6 separate regions of the Homo sapiens genome follow, and regions 1, 2, 4, 5 and 6 are each linked to region 3. The links are contacts of gene promoters, found by promoter capture Hi-C in blood cells and fetal thymus (Javierre and others, 2016). All regions are on one chromosome and are shown on one strand. The core of a region is centred on a gene start or on the middle of the fragment in contact, and the rest is flanking DNA. Distances in the headings are between cores, read along the strand shown.

Evidence for each region. Contacts are between HindIII fragments. The CHiCAGO score rates a contact against its expected background, and 5 or more counts as called.
Region 1: a contact is called between a fragment that was not itself captured here and the fragment with the promoter of ASH2L in region 3, in 3 of 17 cell types (neutrophils, erythroblasts and fetal thymus). The highest score is 8.1, in neutrophils.
Region 2: a contact is called between a fragment that was not itself captured here and the fragment with the promoter of ASH2L in region 3, in 3 of 17 cell types (neutrophils, total CD8 T cells and naive CD4 T cells). The highest score is 8.6, in neutrophils.
Region 4: a fragment that was not itself captured here is called in contact with the fragment with the promoter of ASH2L in region 3 in 1 of 17 cell types (erythroblasts); the score reaches 5.2 in erythroblasts.
Region 5: a fragment that was not itself captured here is called in contact with the fragment with the promoter of ASH2L in region 3 in 1 of 17 cell types (naive CD8 T cells); the score reaches 7.7 in naive CD8 T cells.
Region 6: a fragment that was not itself captured here is called in contact with the fragment with the promoter of ASH2L in region 3 in 1 of 17 cell types (neutrophils); the score reaches 6.7 in neutrophils.

Annotation. Positions count from the first base shown.
Region 1 is chr8:37,778,631-37,781,638 of GRCh38, forward strand. It overlaps PLPBP (pyridoxal phosphate binding protein), which reads left to right. Exons shown (of 8, transcript NM_007198.4): 8 at 1-1,138. Among named protein-coding and RNA genes, the nearest start is that of ADGRA2, 17 kb to the right of the region's middle. RefSeq lists enhancers at 1,859-2,359, 2,300-3,008. The HindIII fragment of the contact is 3,237 bases long and covers 1-2,869 here.
Region 2 is chr8:37,759,588-37,762,558 of GRCh38, forward strand. LOC124901934 (a long non-coding RNA gene) reads right to left here. Exons shown (of 2, transcript XR_007060889.1): 2 at 1-2,971. It also overlaps a transcript of PLPBP not described here. Among named protein-coding and RNA genes, the nearest start is that of PLPBP, 1.6 kb to the right of the region's middle. RefSeq lists enhancers at 2,607-2,686, 2,787-2,971, 2,824-2,971 and a silencer at 2,746-2,971. The HindIII fragment of the contact is 2,312 bases long and covers 129-2,440 here.
Region 3 is chr8:38,104,035-38,106,869 of GRCh38, forward strand. It overlaps ASH2L (ASH2 like, histone lysine methyltransferase complex subunit), which reads left to right and starts at 1,495. Exons shown (of 16, transcript NM_004674.5): 1 at 1,495-1,704; 2 at 2,344-2,410. The coding sequence starts at 1,517. RefSeq lists silencers at 1,263-1,352, 1,683-1,882 and an enhancer at 1,463-1,592. The HindIII fragment of the contact is 22,171 bases long and covers 1-2,835 here.
Region 4 is chr8:38,366,475-38,369,323 of GRCh38, forward strand. The region is part of intron 1 of NSD3 (nuclear receptor binding SET domain protein 3); the gene reads right to left. Among named protein-coding and RNA genes, the nearest start is that of NSD3, 14 kb to the right of the region's middle. The HindIII fragment of the contact is 1,665 bases long and covers 516-2,180 here.
Region 5 is chr8:38,414,786-38,417,604 of GRCh38, forward strand. FGFR1 (fibroblast growth factor receptor 1) reads right to left here. Exons shown (of 18, transcript NM_023110.3): 12 at 2,521-2,631; 13 at 1,085-1,275; 14 at 1-116. Among named protein-coding and RNA genes, the nearest start is that of LETM2, 30 kb to the left of the region's middle. RefSeq lists enhancers at 593-1,363, 1,804-2,469. The HindIII fragment of the contact is 8,773 bases long and covers 1-2,819 here.
Region 6 is chr8:37,742,885-37,745,917 of GRCh38, forward strand. It overlaps ERLIN2 (ER lipid raft associated 2), which reads left to right. Exons shown (of 12, transcript NM_007175.8): 5 at 1,471-1,532; 6 at 1,687-1,812. Among named protein-coding and RNA genes, the nearest start is that of ERLIN2, 7.8 kb to the left of the region's middle. The HindIII fragment of the contact is 4,955 bases long and covers 1-3,033 here.

The DNA of each region.
Region 1 (3,008 bases), core at 1-2,500, 330 kb before region 3:
TTCAGGAAATGGCTCAGGTTAATTCTCAAAACACAAATTGTTGCTGGCCAGGCATGGTGACTCATGCCTGTAATCCCAGCAATTTGGGAGACAGAGGCGGAAGGATCACCTGAGCCTAGGAGTTCAAGACCAGCCTCAGCAACAGCAGGAGCCCCACCCCCCGTCTCTACAAAAAAATTTAAAAATTAACTGGGCATGGTGGCTGAGGTGGAAGAATGGAAGAATCACTTGAGCCCAGGAGTTTGAGGCTGCAGTGAGCTATGATTGCACCACTGTACTCCTGCCTTAAAAAAAAAAAAAAAATCCCAATAGTCCATGAAGGCTTTGATCTCTTGGGAAGTTCTTCATAGATGCTGTCACATTTCTTAAAGCAACCTTTTAATATGCAGATAATACCCCCCAACTTTTTTAGAGACAGCCTGTCTCTTAAAAAAAAAATTAATTTGGTAGTGAGAGCTTGTGTCACTGCCACTCTGTTTTATCCCTGAAATTAAAGGATAACATAAGGAGGACTTGGGCCTTTCTGACATCATCCTGAAGAGACAGGACTTTGCGTTTTTCCTCTGGGACCTACAGTGATGAGAATTTAATGATTATCTCCTCCACTATAATCCTCTTTAGGGTGATTTTTTAAATCAAAACCCAGTGAATCTCATTACTCCTAAGAAACGAAAGATTCCTTCAAAGCCTTTTCAGGCACATGGTTTCAACAAAGCCTGGCTTTGACATTCCTTGTCCTGAGGAGCACTTTCCAGGCATAGTTACAGCTTCCCCACTGTATTTACAAGCCAGAATTGTGCAACTCTTCTGGATCATTAATAAAGTAGCAAGATCCTCAAAAAACCCAAAAACACCATTCTCTAATAGTCATGACAAATGGCTTCAGTATGGCTTGTTTTTTATTTTCCAGATGGCTTTTTCTCTTATTTTTTGAAGCCCCAGTCTTTGATTTTACAGGTAACTTTCAAAACATCATGATGCTGCCAAATGTACTTTTGTAAACTTAAACATTATGATTCCTGTATTATTTCAGTGAGAGCTACAGTGTGATATTTCAGAGTCTATTAAATAAAAATGTGAGTTTGAATTACACCATCTGTGCCAATTACAAAGCAATTAAAAGATTTATTTTTTATGATCTGGTGTAGTGACTGAATATAACAGGTGGGGGCATTGGAACCGACGGGAAGCAGCTATGCTGGTGCCTTGGCATTGTGCCAGCCTGGCTTTGGAGGAGGGCTTCCCTGGGGTCACAGACGCAGCCAAAGCTACACCATGGGTGAGAGGGATTCTGAACTTCTAAGGGCAAGAAAAAGGACATTTCAAGAATTACAAAAATAGTTACCCCTCACTGCAAGAGACTTTTGAATTGCCTCTAGATGGCGACATTGGCTAACCTGAGGGACAAGCACTGGCTCTCCACTGTCAGTAGTTTACCTTATGAGGGACTCCTGGTTACTCAGTCTGGTGGAGGCCAGAGAGGACATGACGCTCTCAAGTGATAGTGTGACTTGCAGAGCCTCAGGGGTTCGATACCAGCTAGCCTGGGCAACACGGTGAAATCTTGTCTGTACCAAAAATACCCCGCCCAAAAATTAGCTGGGCATGGTGGCACATGCCTGTGGACCCAGCTACTCCAGAGGCTGAGGTGGGAGGATCGCTTGAGCCTGGGAGGAAGAAGTCACGGTGAGCTGAGATCGCACCACTGCACTGCAGCTTGGGTGACAAGGTGAGACCCCATCTCAAAACAAAACAAAAACAGCGAATAAGGAGGAAAGCCAGGGAAGGCTCAATCAGATCTAGATAAGGGAAGGACACCAAAGTGTGTCTAGGGTGTCCCCAGCAGGATGGGATATTTTGCAGAGAGAAAATTGAGCCAGGTTGTGAGTTTGTCTTTCGTTACGCATGATGGGTGGCAGGTTGGGTTTCTTCCAGATTTTCATGAAAGCCAGTTCCTGGAGTTTGGACGGCTTGCTCTCCTGGATTGGGCCCACCTGTGCAGCCTCACAGTCTCTGAAGGCGCTGGGCCCTTGTCTGCCCTGAAGCCAGCCTCAGAAGGCTTGAGACGCCACAAAACCTCCCAATAGTCCATCAAGACTTTGATCTCTTGGGGAGCTCCTCACAGATTCTATCACAGTTCTTAAAGCAACCTCTTAATACTCAAATGGTACCCCCCACCTTTTGTTTAACATTGATGGCATATGCAGCACTATTCTCTATATTCTCTCATTTCACCATCACAACAGCTGGTAGACTTGTGTAGGCTGATAGGCAATGTCCCTTTGTGGACGGGGCACTGGGGCCCAGAGAAGGTTCCGTGTTCTCCTTGTCTGAGGTCAGAGTGAGTTGTGGCAGGACGAGAAATAAACTCAGGACTTGACTTTCTGGCCCAGAACATGGTCACTACTCCACACTGGTATCTTCTATCTCTACCTTTAATAATTGATAAGTGGCATATTCTTAGATGTGCAGCTTTCATTTAAACGAGCCTTATTACCATAAAATAAGTGTGTGTGTTTCTATTCCAGTGGAACAGCTGAGAATTGACGCATCTTAATGCAGAACAAACTTTGAAACCACAGGCAGTGGGGGTGAGAAGGAAGGAGAGCATTAAACCCAGCCATGAGTGGGATTGGCCTCCCCTCTCGTCATCCCATCTCCCTCCCAAGCTCATTCCTCATGATTCAAGCTAATCTCACAGGCTGCAGGGCCCAGAGTGTGCAACCCTGTGCCTTCCCCCTGAAGCTGGACCAGCAGTGAATTCTGTTCCCCAAGGCTAGACACACAGGAATGAGGTCAGACAGGACATTCTTAAAATCCAGGACATCTTCATCCTTCAGAAAAGAAGTGGTCGTGTGCATCCCACCAAAGCTTTGAAGGAGGAAGTACTCGCTTACCAATTCCTGAAGGGCTGCAGTAGGAGTGGAATGTCACCAGTGGTGCAAGGGGAAAGGATTTCTCTGGGAACTGTGACTGTCTTTACCATGAAATTAGTTGAATGCTATTAC
Region 2 (2,971 bases), core at 35-2,534, 340 kb before region 3:
TCTATTTTACTTTTTACTTTTTTATCCCCCTAAAAGACTCACAGTAGGCTCAGAAGGAAACAATTTTTAAATCCATATATGTTTTTCTCATAATTTGGATTTATTCCAGACTATGAGGGTGTTTTAAAAGCTTGATGGCATTGATGGTGAATAAGTATACTAGATTTTAGATTATTTATAAAATCTGTTTCTCTGGGCATTTGGCTTTTTAATCTTTCTCTTTTCCCCTTGGTCCTTGCAAATTATTGGAGCAATTTAAAGACAATTACTGGTGATGAAATGATTTTGGACTTGTATTTTTCAAGGATTAGGTAGTAGGGGAGGATGAAAGGTTAAATTGGATGGTTGATGTCCCAGGAAGAGGAAGAGAAGAAATTAAAAAAGCAAATAAGGAAAAAAAGGGACAAAGTGAAATAAAATTAATTCAAAAGTACAACTAAGAAGAAATTGGAATGTGAAATGACCATGGGACTGGGGGCACCATGATCTTTTTGTCTCCATTTCCATTTTCATAAGACCACAGAATGTCAGAGATGAAAAGCGAGCATATTGGAAGTAAATCGGCAGTAAAGCCTGTCTTACTCAGCCTGGTCTCTCTCAGGGTTCTTTACAGAGTAACGCCTCAGTAAATGTTCACTGAATGGATAAGGGGGTGGGAGGATGACCTTGCCTTGTAGTTCAAAGAATAGAGGTCCCTGGCTGGGCACGGTGGCCCACGACTGTAATCCCAGCACTTTGGGAGGCCGAGGCGGGTGGATCACAAGGTCAGGAGTTCGAGACCAACCTGGCTAACATAGTGAAACCCCATCTGTACTAAAAATACAAAAATTAGGCGGGCGTGGTGATGCACGCCTGTAGTCCCAGCTACTCGGGAGGCTCAGGCAGGAGAATCACTTGCACCCAGGAGGCAGAGGTTGCAGTGAGCCGAGATCGCGTCACTGCACTCCAGCTTGAGTGACAGAGCAAGACTTCGTCTCAAAAAACACAAAAAAGAATAGAGGCCCAATCTAGTAAATGAAGCTACAACTACTTGTTGTCATAGTGACGTAACACCTGGATTATACATTCCCTAGATCTGTGAGGTATTTATGGTTTTAAAATGTTTTCCAAATAGCACATTATTTGAAGTGTTTCATCTCACCCAATCCTTCCTCTACACATCCCATCACCATGATCCCCTCTGTCCTCCCCATCACTCACTGCTGGCTCGCTCCTTCCCACCTGTGTCTCTACAGCAAGCATCTATTATGCTCACACCACAAAGGGCCATTCTGGTCATTTTAAATTTTTTTATCATTTTGGTTGGAGTACAGATGTATCAAGTCTAGAGACATTTTATCTGAACACAATTACTCCTAATGTTGGCAGTCCTAGTTTGCAGATAACCCAGTTAATGTGTACCAGGGTAAATGACCAGAGACTTCCCAAAAAGAAGTCCCTTATTTTAAGGATCTGAGGTTCTGCCTAATGTGACTTTCCCAGAGCAGAAGATGTGAAATTCCATCTCTGTTCCTGGGAGTCTGGGGAAAAACTGTGAGAGGAGAGAGTAAGAATATTGCCCCTTCTTTCCGGAAAGCTCTAATAAACCCCATCACCTCAAGACAAGACCACCTGAAGAACAAACATTAGCCATTTCTCTAATATAATAGCATCCCACTTCATTAAGTTGAATTAATGTTTGAGAAACTTTCAACAGAAATTGCAGCCAAGAGTGCTTTCCTTAACAAAATTGATCTCCTTCTCCTTGCCCGTAGCACCTACTATTTCACCACCTGACTATGTAGCATTCTGTATTATTATTTGTATGGCCTGGCTCCTCATCAAGTTTATAACCATATTGCCCACAGAAGGGGACTCAAGAATCAAACTCAGGGCGTTGTGGTGCCCGTTTGTAGTCCCAGCTATTCTGTGAGGCGGAGGTGGGAGGATTGCTTGGGCCCACGAGTCCCAGATAATCTGGGCAACATAGCGAGACCCCATCTCAAAAAAAGAATCTAACTGAATGTGCTGAGCTCCTGCTAGACCATCTAAAGCTGCCTGTGGGCTGGGCGCGGTGGCTCGCACCTGTAGTCCCAGCTACTGGGGAGGCTGAGGCAGGAGAATCGCTTGAACCCGGGAGGTGGAGGTTGCAGTGAGCCCAGATCGGGCCACCGCACTCCAGCCTGGGTGACAGAGCGAGACTGTCTCAATAATAATAATAGTAATAATCATGCTGCCTGTGTCCCCTGATGAGACAGCACTGGCCGCAGGTGGCCGCTAACCTCTCGAAATAGGGATGGCCCGAATTGAGACATATGCAAGTCAACACTACACCGGGTTTCAGAAACACATACGATTTTCAAAAGAATTAAAATATCGCATTTAGTTTTTCTATTGATTGCATGTTGAAATCTTACTTTGGATATATTGGATTAAATAAAGTATATCATTAAAATTTTTAAGCTTATGTGCCTATGAGAAACTTCCAAATTACACAGTTGGATGGCGTTATATTTCTCTTGGACAGCAGTGGTCTGAAAGATGACAAAAATCACGATACGTTTGAATCACGCCATGTCTTTAGGGAAAAGAAGAAAGAAGAGTTTCCTTTCGTATCGCTTAGGGGTTCCTCGCAAGAACCATCTGACAGAGAAAAGCCCTGGCTCCCGCCCCAGTGGCTTCTAATTCTGGTCCCCGCGCCCAGAAAGCCGGGAACGGGCAAGCCTGGAAAGGCGTTTTGAAAGGAAACAGGATCCCCCGAGTATAGGATGCGTTTCTGCCTCACAAAAGTCCCTTGGGGGTGGGGGGACGGCAGCGGCTGAGGCGCAGGAAAGAGGAGAGCACACGGGGAGTGGCCCTTGGAACCAGGCGCGCAAAACCTCAGCCCCTAGGCTCCATTTCCAGGTTCGCGGGTGACCTCCCCAAGATGGCCGCCGCCTGGGGGCGGGCCTCCACGCTGCACGGGTGTTGATTGGGTGAGACGACTCAATGA
Region 3 (2,835 bases), core at 245-2,744:
GACTCCGTTTCAAAAAAAAAAAAAAAAAGCCGTGCGCGGTGGCTCACACCTGTAATCCCAGCACTTTGGGAGGCCCAGGTGGGTGGATCACTTGAGGTCAGGAGATCGACACCAGCCTGGCCAACATGGTGAAACCCCGCCTCTACTAACAAAAATTAGCCGGGCGTGGTGACAGATACCTGTAATCTCAGCTACTCGGGAGGCTGAGGTAGGAGAATCGCTTGAACCTGGGGTGGAGGTTGCAGTGAGCCGTGATCGGGCCACTGCGCTCCAGCCTGGGCGACAGAGCGAGACTCTGTCTCAAACAAACAACAACAAGAAAACACAAAATTCTGCGACCATATGTTAAAACTGCTACAATACTACGTATTTGGGAGGAGATACTTAGATCAAGCATCCTGCTTCTCTTTGGAGTACCAACCCCTGATTTAAGTATTTATCATCAATTTTAAAAATGTAACCTGGCAACTCAGTTAGGTCTTTCTTCAATTTTGTTGAAAACCAATAATTGAGAACCAATTGGGAAATCAATATCTACGTATTTCCCATGGCGTCCAGTGGCCCAGAGATTCCTACACTATCGGTGGACACATCACAGTAAGATTAGACTGAGGATTGGCGAGGGGTGCGCCGTTCTTGTGTAAAGCGGGAGAAGAGTGTATTATCGTTAGGCAACATTTTAGGATATAGGATAAACACTGGTGTCCTGAAAACGTTCCTGGCCGCAACACTCTCAGAGGTTTGCATTCTCGAGTTTGGAGACCATGGCTCTGAAAGACTCAACTCACTCCACTGATGCCAGCCACCAGCTACTGTTGATGACTTCCCAAGTTCGTACTTTCAGTCCACACCTCTTCCTTTCGCTGGGCACCAAACTTGTCTACATTCCGAGTGCCCCGGCACACCCCGGGGCTTCGCTTTCCGCCTCTCACAGTAGGAAGCGGCGAGCCGCTTCTAGTGCCCACGCCGCTCCTCGGCTGCCCGGCCTGGGTTTTCCACCCTCGCCCCTGGAATCGGCCTCCCTAGATTCCCTTCCCTCTTAAAATCATTTGGAAACGGGCTCCAAGGGGCGACCCTGCGCAGAAAACCAAATTCCATCCGGGGCGGGCAGGGAGTGCTAGACTCCAAGGAAGACGTTTCCCACATTCGGTGGTGAGGAGTGTTTGGCGGCACGGCACGGCCAGCGCTCTCAAGGACCCTCTTCTGCGCAGAATATCCAGTCGTAGCCACGAAAATACGCCGCGTCAGTCCCTGACTCGAAAGGAAGTCCTCCAGAGAGCCGCACTAACCATCTAGCTTCCTCCACCTTCAGCCTGCCAGGCCCGCGGCCACCGCCGGCGCGGGAGGCCGGCCCACCTCTGCCCGCGCGCCTGGCCTTAAAGCGGTCGTGGAATTATGCTTCCTCAGGCAGGCGGTGGACGCACCGCGGGCTTTTTCTGTTTGAAGACTACAGCGTCACACAGCAACGCGCGCGAGAGAAGAGAGTATTCTCGCGAGAAGTCCAGGGGTGGCCGTGATGGCGGCGGCAGGAGCAGGACCTGGCCAGGAAGCGGGTGCCGGGCCTGGCCCAGGAGCGGTCGCAAATGCAACAGGGGCAGAAGAGGGGGAGATGAAGCCGGTGGCAGCGGGAGCAGCCGCTCCTCCTGGAGAGGGGATCTCTGCTGCTCCGACAGTTGAGCCCAGTTCCGGGGAGGCTGAAGGCGGGTAAGAGGTCCTGCCGCCCGAGGAAGACGCGGGAGGGAGGCCCGCCCCTCGCGAATCCCGCGGCTCCTGGAGCCCTGCCGCCCGCCCCCTGCGAACCCAGGCCCCGCCGCCAATGGCTCGCCCTGCCTCTGCGCCGCTTGGCCCGTCCCCTCTCAAGCATATCTCGGATAACGCCCCTTCCGCACCTTTCACGGGCGGTGGGAGCTGAGGCTCCTGTCGTTATCTCTGATCCTTGCACCCTGGCAGGAAGCTGGTAGCTCACACTTTAACGGGAGGCCTTCACATATTCCAGAAAAGAAACCACTTTGCAGTGCCAGACTGGAAGAAGTAACGGTCACTCTGAAAACAGGGTGGGAGAGCTGCCTCTCTTTGAACCTCTCCCAGGACCAACTCTAACCCAGGTAGATTTGACTGTAAAGGCCGGTTAGGCTTCCCTGTGCTCCGTGGGTCCGCGACTGTCTGACATGTCCACCTTCTCAGTATCCTGACAGTACCTTGGGCATCCAGTCTGAGATCAGGCTTAGCTGAAAAAGCTGCAGGAGTATGAAGTTCGGCTGTAATTTGATCATCATTTTTGGGAATAGGCATTTTGAGGTTTGTCTTGAGAATTCTTACTTGAGCGCTTTCATTATCTTATAGGGAGGCAAACTTGGTCGATGTAAGCGGTGGCTTGGAGACAGAATCATCTAATGGAAAAGATACACTAGTAAGTATTTTTAGTTGTTTGCAAGACAAAATAGGGTTTGTTTTAGTTATTTCTTCTTCTTCTTTTTTTTTTTTTTTTGTTGCGACGGAGCCTTGCTCTGTCGCCCAGGCTGGAATGCAGTGGCGCGATCTCGGCTCACTGCAACCTCCTCCCCCCGGGTTCCAGCGATTCTCCTGCCTCAGCCTCCCGAGTATCTGGGATTACAGGCATCTGCCAACACACCTGGCTTCTTTTTTTTGTCTTTTTAGTAGAGACGGGGTTTCACCATGTTGGCCAGGCTGGTCTCGAACTCCTAACCTCAGTTGATTCTCCCGCCTCAGCCTCCCAGAGTGTTGGGATTACAGGCGTGAGCCACCGCGCCCGGCCTTGTTTTTACATTTTTAAGCGAATCAAAAATACATTCAGGCCAGGCACGGTGGCTCATG
Region 4 (2,849 bases), core at 98-2,597, 260 kb after region 3:
TATGATCTCAGCTCACTGCAACCTTTGCCTCCTGGGTTCAAGCAATTCTCTGCCTCAGCCTCGTGAGTAGCTGGGACTACAGGCGCCCGCCACCACACCTGGCTAATTTTTGAATTTTTAGTAGAGACGGGGTTTCACCATGTTGGCCAGGATGGTCTTGATCTCTTGACCTCATGATCTGCCCACCTCGGCCTCCCAAAGTGCTGGGATTACAGGTGTGAGCCAACGTGCCCAGCCTATATCTACTTAATTCTTTCCCTTCACTAAGAATAGCTAATTCTGGGCTAACCACACGTAGCTATTTAAATTTAAACAAGTTAAAATTAAATTACATTAAAAATTTAGTTCCTCAGTTACAATGGCCATATTTCAAGCATTCAACATCAACATGTGGCTAAGGTTACCATATTGGTCAGTGCAGATACAGAATATTTCTGTCATCATAGAAAATTCTATTAGACAGTGCTGATCTACATTATTTTTCAAATTTTACCTTAACAAAAACATCCTTTAAAAGCTTATATTAAATAAGAATTATAAATTTTTAAAGAAATCTGTTAATATTACTGTGATGCTAGAAAGAAGTCACATAAGAGGAAGTTCAGCAAATAGATCTCTATGCCAGAGTAAGACAAACTCATATACCTAGGGACAAGCAAAATGTCCACAGAGTAGAAGGATGTACTCTAACATTGGTCTTAGAGTCATAAGACTTGAATTTTAGTTCTGCTTCTACCCCTAACTTAGCTGCATAAATTCCGAGGACAGACAGTATCTTTGGGTTTTCATTTAACATCATAAGAAAGGTTGGATCAGGTGATCCACATATATAAAATGACCACGAAAAATGGGAAAATGAGCTGTGATTCCTCCTATTATCAATACATAAGTGTAGGGCTTGAGTTTTCATTCTGAAAAGAATATATATATATATGTGGTTAAAATACTAACTTTTGGCCAGGTGTGGTGGCTCATGCCTATAATCCCAGCACTTTGGGAGGCCGAGGCAGGCAGATCACTTGAGGTCAGCAGTTCAAGACAAGCCTGGCCAACATGGTGAAACCTTGTCTCTACCAAAAATACAAAAATTAGTTGGGTGTGGTGGTGCATGCCTGTGGTCCCAGCTACTAGGGAGGCTGAGGCAGGAGAATCACTTGAACCCGGGAGGTGGAGGTTGCGGTGAGCTGAGATTGTGCCACTGCACTCCAGCCTGGGTGACAGAGTGAGACTCTGTCTCAAAAAAATAAATAAATAAAAAACTAACTTTAAATCTCATCTATCACCTTAACATTATTTAAGATGACCATTATTTGTAATATCAAACAATTATATGAAATTCACAACCAATACAGTTAGTGACATAGATAGGATTTTAGGGAGTAAAATCAGCATGGCCACGATTCTCTTTACAAAATCCTAGTAAGGAATCAAGGTGTGTTAGAGAAGTTGTATGTTTTCTCTTAACTTTTTTTAAACTTTTCTGAGTTTAAACTATTAATAAAGCAAAATATCTTTTTTTTTTGAGACAGAGATTTGCTCTTGTTGCCCAGGTTGGAGTGCCCTGGCACAATCTCGGCTCACTGCAACCTCTGCCTCCAGGGTTCAAGTGATTCTCCTGCCTCAGCTTCCCAAGTAGCTGGGATTACAGGCATGCACCATCACACCCAGCTAAAGGGGGTTACACCATGTTAGTCAGGCCGGTCTCGAACTCCTGACCTCAGGTGATCCACTCGCCTTGGCCTCCCAAAGTGTTGGGATTACAGGTGTGAGCCACTGCACCAGGCAGCAAATTATCTGTAAAGAATAACTGTGCTACTCCATAATCTGTTTAACTTTAGCGTTGTCACCTCAAATATTTTCTGAAATGTGTTCACTTTAAATTTTCCACTAAAAATTTAGAGAAAGATGTTTAGAGAAGGATGATGATTAAAGACATTAAAATATCCTGAATTAGGAAGTAACCTGCGTGAAGTAGAACTTAGTTAACAAAATACAAAAAAGAAAACAACAACAACAAAAAAGTGTTTCATTTAACCATAAATCCTGTCACTAAATTCAATCATACAGTTTTCACTTGACTATGATTCCATTAAGTTATACAACATTTTAGGTGGCTTTGTAGTTCATATTTTTTTCCTGACTAAACCACATTACTATTGAACTGCCTTTTACCAATACAAAGCTTACTAGTAAAACACCCTGTTTCCCTTATCTATCTAGTTTAACCTCAACTGTCTTCGCTTTGTTGCTGACCACACCCAGCAACAACAGACATGGTATTACCACTTGAAGGAAATTACATTATTTTCCAATCCTTTACAGCAAGGGTAGTTGCTCACAATGAAAATTACTACAAACAACTTTCATCAGTCATCTTGTTCCATTCACTATGAAATCTAGTAAACTAACAAGTTCATCCACATATTTTCTTACCTATTTCCTGGACAAACTTTTAAATTATGGTAAAATGGTTTGAGATTGGTTCTTAAAATTTTGCAAGCATTCAAATTTACTTTCTTTTAGCTTGTATCCTCCATTCCCCCAAAAAAGGCAAAAGAGAATGTATGCCAAAGATGATATGTAGTTTTTAAGGCACTAAGCAATTTATTATATCTAAATAATAATTTACTAAGTTTATCTTTTCTATAAAGACCAGTTTGGGTTTTGTTTTTTTTGTTTATCGCTTTAGTATTTTAGGTTCAACATGTAGTATTTTAGTATTCAACATGTAGTTTTCAAAATAAGTAATAAAAGTTAGAAAATTCAGAATTTCATACTATATATCCAAATTTCACATCACCTGTTTGTTTAATCAGAACACCAAGCTTTAGTGAAGCTTTAGCCATCAT
Region 5 (2,819 bases), core at 1-2,500, 310 kb after region 3:
GTCTTTTTATAGTAGTCGATGTGGTGAATGTCCCGTGCGAGGCCAAAGTCTGCTATCTTCATCACATTGTCCTCTGTCACCAGGACATTCCTGGCTGCCAGGTCTCGGTGTATGCACTGAGGAAGGAGGAAGGGAGAGCGGGAGGCGGGGAGGTGAGGGAGCTGGAAGGCTCTGGGCGGCCGCCACCCATGCAACTAGCCGACTTGTCTCATAGAACTTCTGCCACACTGCTCTGCCCCCCGAACCTTTGCTTTCCCTCTTCTAACATTCTCTGCCAGCTCCAGGCTTCTCATCACAGCAAGCGCTCCTCCCTTCCTTCCCCAAAGACTGGCCCCTTATGCCTCTGCTGCGTCTGCAGCGATGCATGCTCCTAGGTCCTGCCTCCCAGCACAGCAAGTCCACATGGGGCTGGGCTCAAACCAGGCCAGCCCTTACACACCAAACACTGCACTCAACACTCACAGACAGTTTCATTTTATCTTCATAACAATTCTACAACAGGTATTGTTATACTTTATTTTCTTTTGAGACAGGGCCTTGCTCTGTCGCCCCGGCTGGGGTGCAGTGGTGTGATCATGGCTCAGTGCAGCCTCAAACTCTTGGGCTCAAGCTAGCCTCCCACCTCAGCCTCCCGAGTAGCTGGGACTATCGGCACGCACTACCACACCCAGCTAATTTTTTAATTTTTTTTTTTTTTTTAAAGACGGGGTTTCAATATATTGCCCAACCTGGTCTCACACTCCTGAGCTCAAGCAATCCTCCCGCCTTGGCCACTGCACCCAGCTGATATTATTATTATTTTGTATTTGAAGAATTTTAAGATGCTAAGTAGCTGCCTGAGGCTACGCAGAAAGTGGCAGTGCACAGATCGGACCCTGCATCAGTCTGACCCCAAGGCCACCTGGCTACACTGGTGCTCCTGACTCTGCAGTTCCCAGAGAGCCTAAGACAACACACAGGGCACACAGGGCCAGTGCTCAGTGCATCCACAACGCCACCACAAGATGATAAGTCACAGGCTGGAAGACTAGGGGGGCTCTGTTCCCACCCTGGCATTACCCAGGGGAGCCTTCAGGTTCCACACCTTCTTGGAGGCCAGATACTCCATGCCTCGGGCCACCTGGTAGGCGCAGGACACCAGGTCCTTGGAGGAGAGCTGCTCCTCTGGGTTGTGGCTGGGGTTGTAGCAGTATTCCAGCCCTGGGGGCCTCCGGGCCTGCAGGTACTCCCGCAGGTTGCCCTTGGAGGCATACTCCACGATGACATACAAGGGACCTGCAGGCACAGGAGAAGAGGCCATGGGGCCAGCAGCAGGTGAGCAGGTTTGGCTTCACCTCAAAGAAACCCCACCCCCAGCAGCACACCCCGGCCAACCTCCCATCTCCTGCCTCCTCTTAGGGGACCTGGGAAATCCATTCTACTACCCAAAAAAAATCAGAGAAATAATTACTCCCAGCATAGTCCAGAAAATTCCCGAGCAACATTGGGGTAAGAGCCCCAGTTTGTCTGTTTATTTTGAGATGGAGTCTCACTCTGTTGCCCAGGCTGGAGTGCAGTGGCGCAATTTCGGCTCACTGCAACCTCTGCCTTCTGGATTCAAGTGATTCTCCTGCCTCAGCCTCCCAAGCAGCTGGGATTACAGGCATGAACAATGCCTGGCTAATTTTTTTTTTTTTTTTTTTTTTTTTTGAGATGGAGTTTTGCTCGTTGCCCAAGCTGGAGTGCAATGGCGCGATCTCGGCTAACCGCAACCTCCGCCTCCCGTGTTCAAACGATTCTCCTGCCACAGCCTCCCGAGTAGCTGGAATTACAGGCATGCGCCACCACGCCCGGCTACTTTTTGTATTTTTAGTAGAGATGGGGTTTCACCTGTTGGCCAGGCTGGTCTCCAACTCCTGACCTCAAGTGATCCACCCGCCTCACCCTCCCAAGGTGCTGGGATTACAGGCGTGAGCCACTGTGCCTGGCCTATTTATTTATTTTATTTTTGAGACAGCGGGAGTATCTCCCAAGCTGGAGTACAATGGCGTGATCTTGGCTCACTGCAACCTCCACCTCCCGGGTTCAAGCAAGTCTTATGCGTCAGCCTCCTGAGTAGCTGGGATTATAGGCATGCGTGACCATGCCTGGCTAACTTTTGTATTTTTTAGTAGAGATGGGGTTTCACCATTTTGACCAGACTGGTCTCGAACTCCTGATCTCAAGTGATCTTCCTGCCTCGGCCTCCCAAATTGCTGGGATTACAGGCATGAGCCACTGCACCCAGCCTGAGCGCTCTTAGACCATAATTACTCAGCTGCCTCTGTTAACACACCACGTGTGTGAATCTAGGTATCTGTATTCCTGAATGAACACCAATGAGCGGAGCCCAGATCCCGAGATAACACATTTTAAACCTCTGCCAAAGCAGCCTCTCTTAACCCCCTTCCCTAGCTGTGGCTGAGAGAGGCCTTGGGACTGATACCCCAGCTCAGATCTTCTCCCCGCTGGGCAGGGAAAGCCAGTCTGGCCGGCACCCACCATCCTGCGTGCAGGCCCCCAGCAGGTTGATGATATTCTTATGCTTCCCGATCATCTTCATCATCTCCATTTCTGAGATCAGGTCTGACAAGTCTTTCTCTGTTGCGTCCGCTTTAAAGAACACGTTGAGACTCATTTACTTGGGAAGGGAGGAGGGCAGGATAAAGGCTAAGGGAGTGGGGTATGTGTCGAGGGGCTGCTTTTCCCTGGGACTTGATTCTCTCCTCCCCACTTCATCCAAACTTGTTTTCTCTTCCCTCTCATGGGAGCCGTTGTTGCAATAGGTGGTAGTGAGTGGG
Region 6 (3,033 bases), core at 180-2,679, 360 kb before region 3:
CAGATAAATGACCTGATACAAGAAGATAACTTGCATAACTAAAGAGAATGTCATAAAGGTAGGGGAGACCTTCAGGGCAAAGAGATCCGAAGAGAACACTGCTACAGCGGTCCCACTGGAAAGCAAAGACAGTTTAAACTGGGATAGAGTGACAAAGAATACCACAAAGAAACACTCTGACAAATCCGGAATTGGAACATCCCACAAGATCGCAGGCCTGATCTCTTCACAAAGTGGTTGTATTTAGAGGGATGCTGGATTGGACAGAGACTTACAAGAAACATAAACAGAAGCAAGGGTGAGCATTGATTAGAACCTGGTTCAAAATTAACAGCTATAACAGATACGACAGAAACTATATGAGTCCACTCAGGCTGCCATGACAGAGGACTACACACCAAGGGACTAAAATAATAGATATTTTCTCACCATTCTGAAGGCCCAAAGTCCAAGATCCGGGTAACAGCAGGGGTAGTTTTGGTGAGACCTCTCTTTCTGGCTTGCAGGTGACCACCTTTTTGTCACATCCTCACAAGGCCTTTCCTCTGTATGTGCAAGAAGAGAGAAAAAGGTCTTTGGTGGATACCAGACCTTTTGGATTACAGCCCACCCTTATGACCTGTTTAACCTTAATTACCTTCTTAAAGGTCTAATCTCCAAATACAGTCACATTGGGGGTTAGGGCTTCAACATATGAATCTGGGGGCGAGGCATACACAGGTCAGTCCATAACACAAACTGTTGGGGAAATCTGAATAAGGACTGGGTATTAGGTGATATTACAGAATTATTGCTAATTTTCTTAGGCTTGGGAATGATACCATGAGTGTGTAGGAGAATGATTATTCTTAAGACAGTGCTCACCAAAGTAAAGGAGTAAAGTATCCTAACTGCAGCTTACTTTGAAATGTTCAGAAAAAAAAAAGGTCAATAAATAAGGTAAAATGTTATCAGTGTTGAATTCAGGTATCTGGATATGGATGTTAGTTATACTACTCTTTCGGCTTCTCTATGTTTGAAATCTTTTTATAATAAATATTTGAGGGCAAAGGGAGTGTGACACCAAAGTAATAGTGAAGACAGTTTAAGAAACATTGATCATAACATTCCACAGTAACCTTCTAAGTTCTGAAAACTTCACCTTGACCCTCCTTAGTCTTTTCCGTGCAACTGATTAATCAAAAGGCATTGCTGATTCCAAAGATATGAGTTACTCTTTCGTACTGGTCCCCAAAAGTCTCATTCATGTCTTTGTAGAGATGTTCCTAGGCAGTGTGATTTCTCAGGAGAGTATGTTGTTGCCATGAGCCCTGCAGAACCTCCCACTTGGAGATCCAAGCTGCCTTCCAACTTCCCGTGAACTCTTCTACTCCTTTTCTGCCAAGCCCCACATCTTACGCCATCACCCTGGGGGACTGCACCATATTCTAAGGCTTCCCAGTGACTTCTTGTCCATTCTCCCTCCAATAGTGGTGGTGTGATGATCTACTTTGACAGAATTGAAGTGGTGAACTTCCTGGTCCCGAACGCAGGTACGTCTTAACAGTTTATTCCCACCACCAGCTCACTTTCCCCAGCATGCCACTCCCGTGTCTGTTGTAGCACCTTGGAAAAGGAGAGCTGCCGTGTCTGAGGGCATTTTGAGTCTTGCCTTTTCTTATGCCAAGCCCTCTCCTTCCCTCTCAGTGTATGATATAGTGAAGAACTATACTGCTGACTATGACAAGGCCCTCATCTTCAACAAGATCCACCACGAACTGAACCAGTTCTGCAGTGTGCACACGCTTCAAGAGGTCTACATTGAGCTGTTTGGTAAGAAAGTCTCTCCTGAGCATGCCGTGCTTAAGCAGGGTTCCTGGAACCCCGCGTCTCTCCACTGCCTAAAGCCTGGCTGCCTGCAGGGTGTGATGGTCACTTATGGACAGGAAATGTTAAAGAATCTTGTGCTCAGGAGCTGGTCACAAAGGAGTTCATGGAGAATGCTGATAGCTATGCAACAAGATCCTTAGAGGGCTGGAGCTTTGGGCACAGGGACCATAGTGGAGTAGAGTATTCACTTCTGGCCTCAATCAGAGGCTGGAGTGGAAATGTGTTCCCACTGTTCCTAAACTATCATTCTATAATGAAGACAAGGTCCATTCTAGAAGAACCTTAGAGATTGTCCAGACCAGCATCCTCATTTTAAGCTGAGGGTACTGTGACCCAAAGCAAGAAAGTCACAGAGCCAGATGCCAATTAGTAGTGGGGCTGAAACAGGAGCCTTCCTCTCCTGGCTCTTCAGCATTCTTCTCACCATGCAACACTGAATGGAGGGCCCCCAGGAATGGGTGATGAAAAAGACATGATTCATAGTTAATTCTAGAAGTGAGATGAGAACCATAGCTCCTTCCAGTTCTCAGAACCTTTGTGATTATTATTTTTTTACTCTGTACCTGTAGCAACGAATAGAAAAACACTTTAAACAAAAAGATTCCACGTGCCTAAGTAGATATGTTTTGTCCTTTTTACCTTTTTCAAAGTAAAGGCAACCTGACTTAGCAGCAAAGGAAGGACACAGTTGGGTAACTGTTATAACTTGTTTGCAGTCAAGTATTCTGTTTAAACTCACTGCCAGAAATTCTCTAATAGCCAATGCCAAAAGTAAATGAATTTTTAACCAATAGTATAACTGTTCTTGACACTAGGACTGGAAAATGATTTTTCCCAGGAATCTTCATAAAAGGGACCCTGAGCAAGAACATTTTTCATAGCAGACAGGAGGACTCATCCACATCGCCAGCAATCATAATTAAGCAAACCGCCTTTTGCACCATTTAAGATTTAGGAAATCATCCAAATTACTTTTAATGTTTCTGCAGTAGAAAATGAATCTAAATTCATTTTATAGGGTTTGTAGTCTTTTATCTGTTTTGGATTCACTGTGCTTTTAAGAAAAAGTTGGTAAATTTGCCGTTGATTTTTCTTTTTAACCTCAAACTAATAGAATTTTATAAAATATTAATTTTCTCTAGCCATTGTCTTAGGACTTGTGAC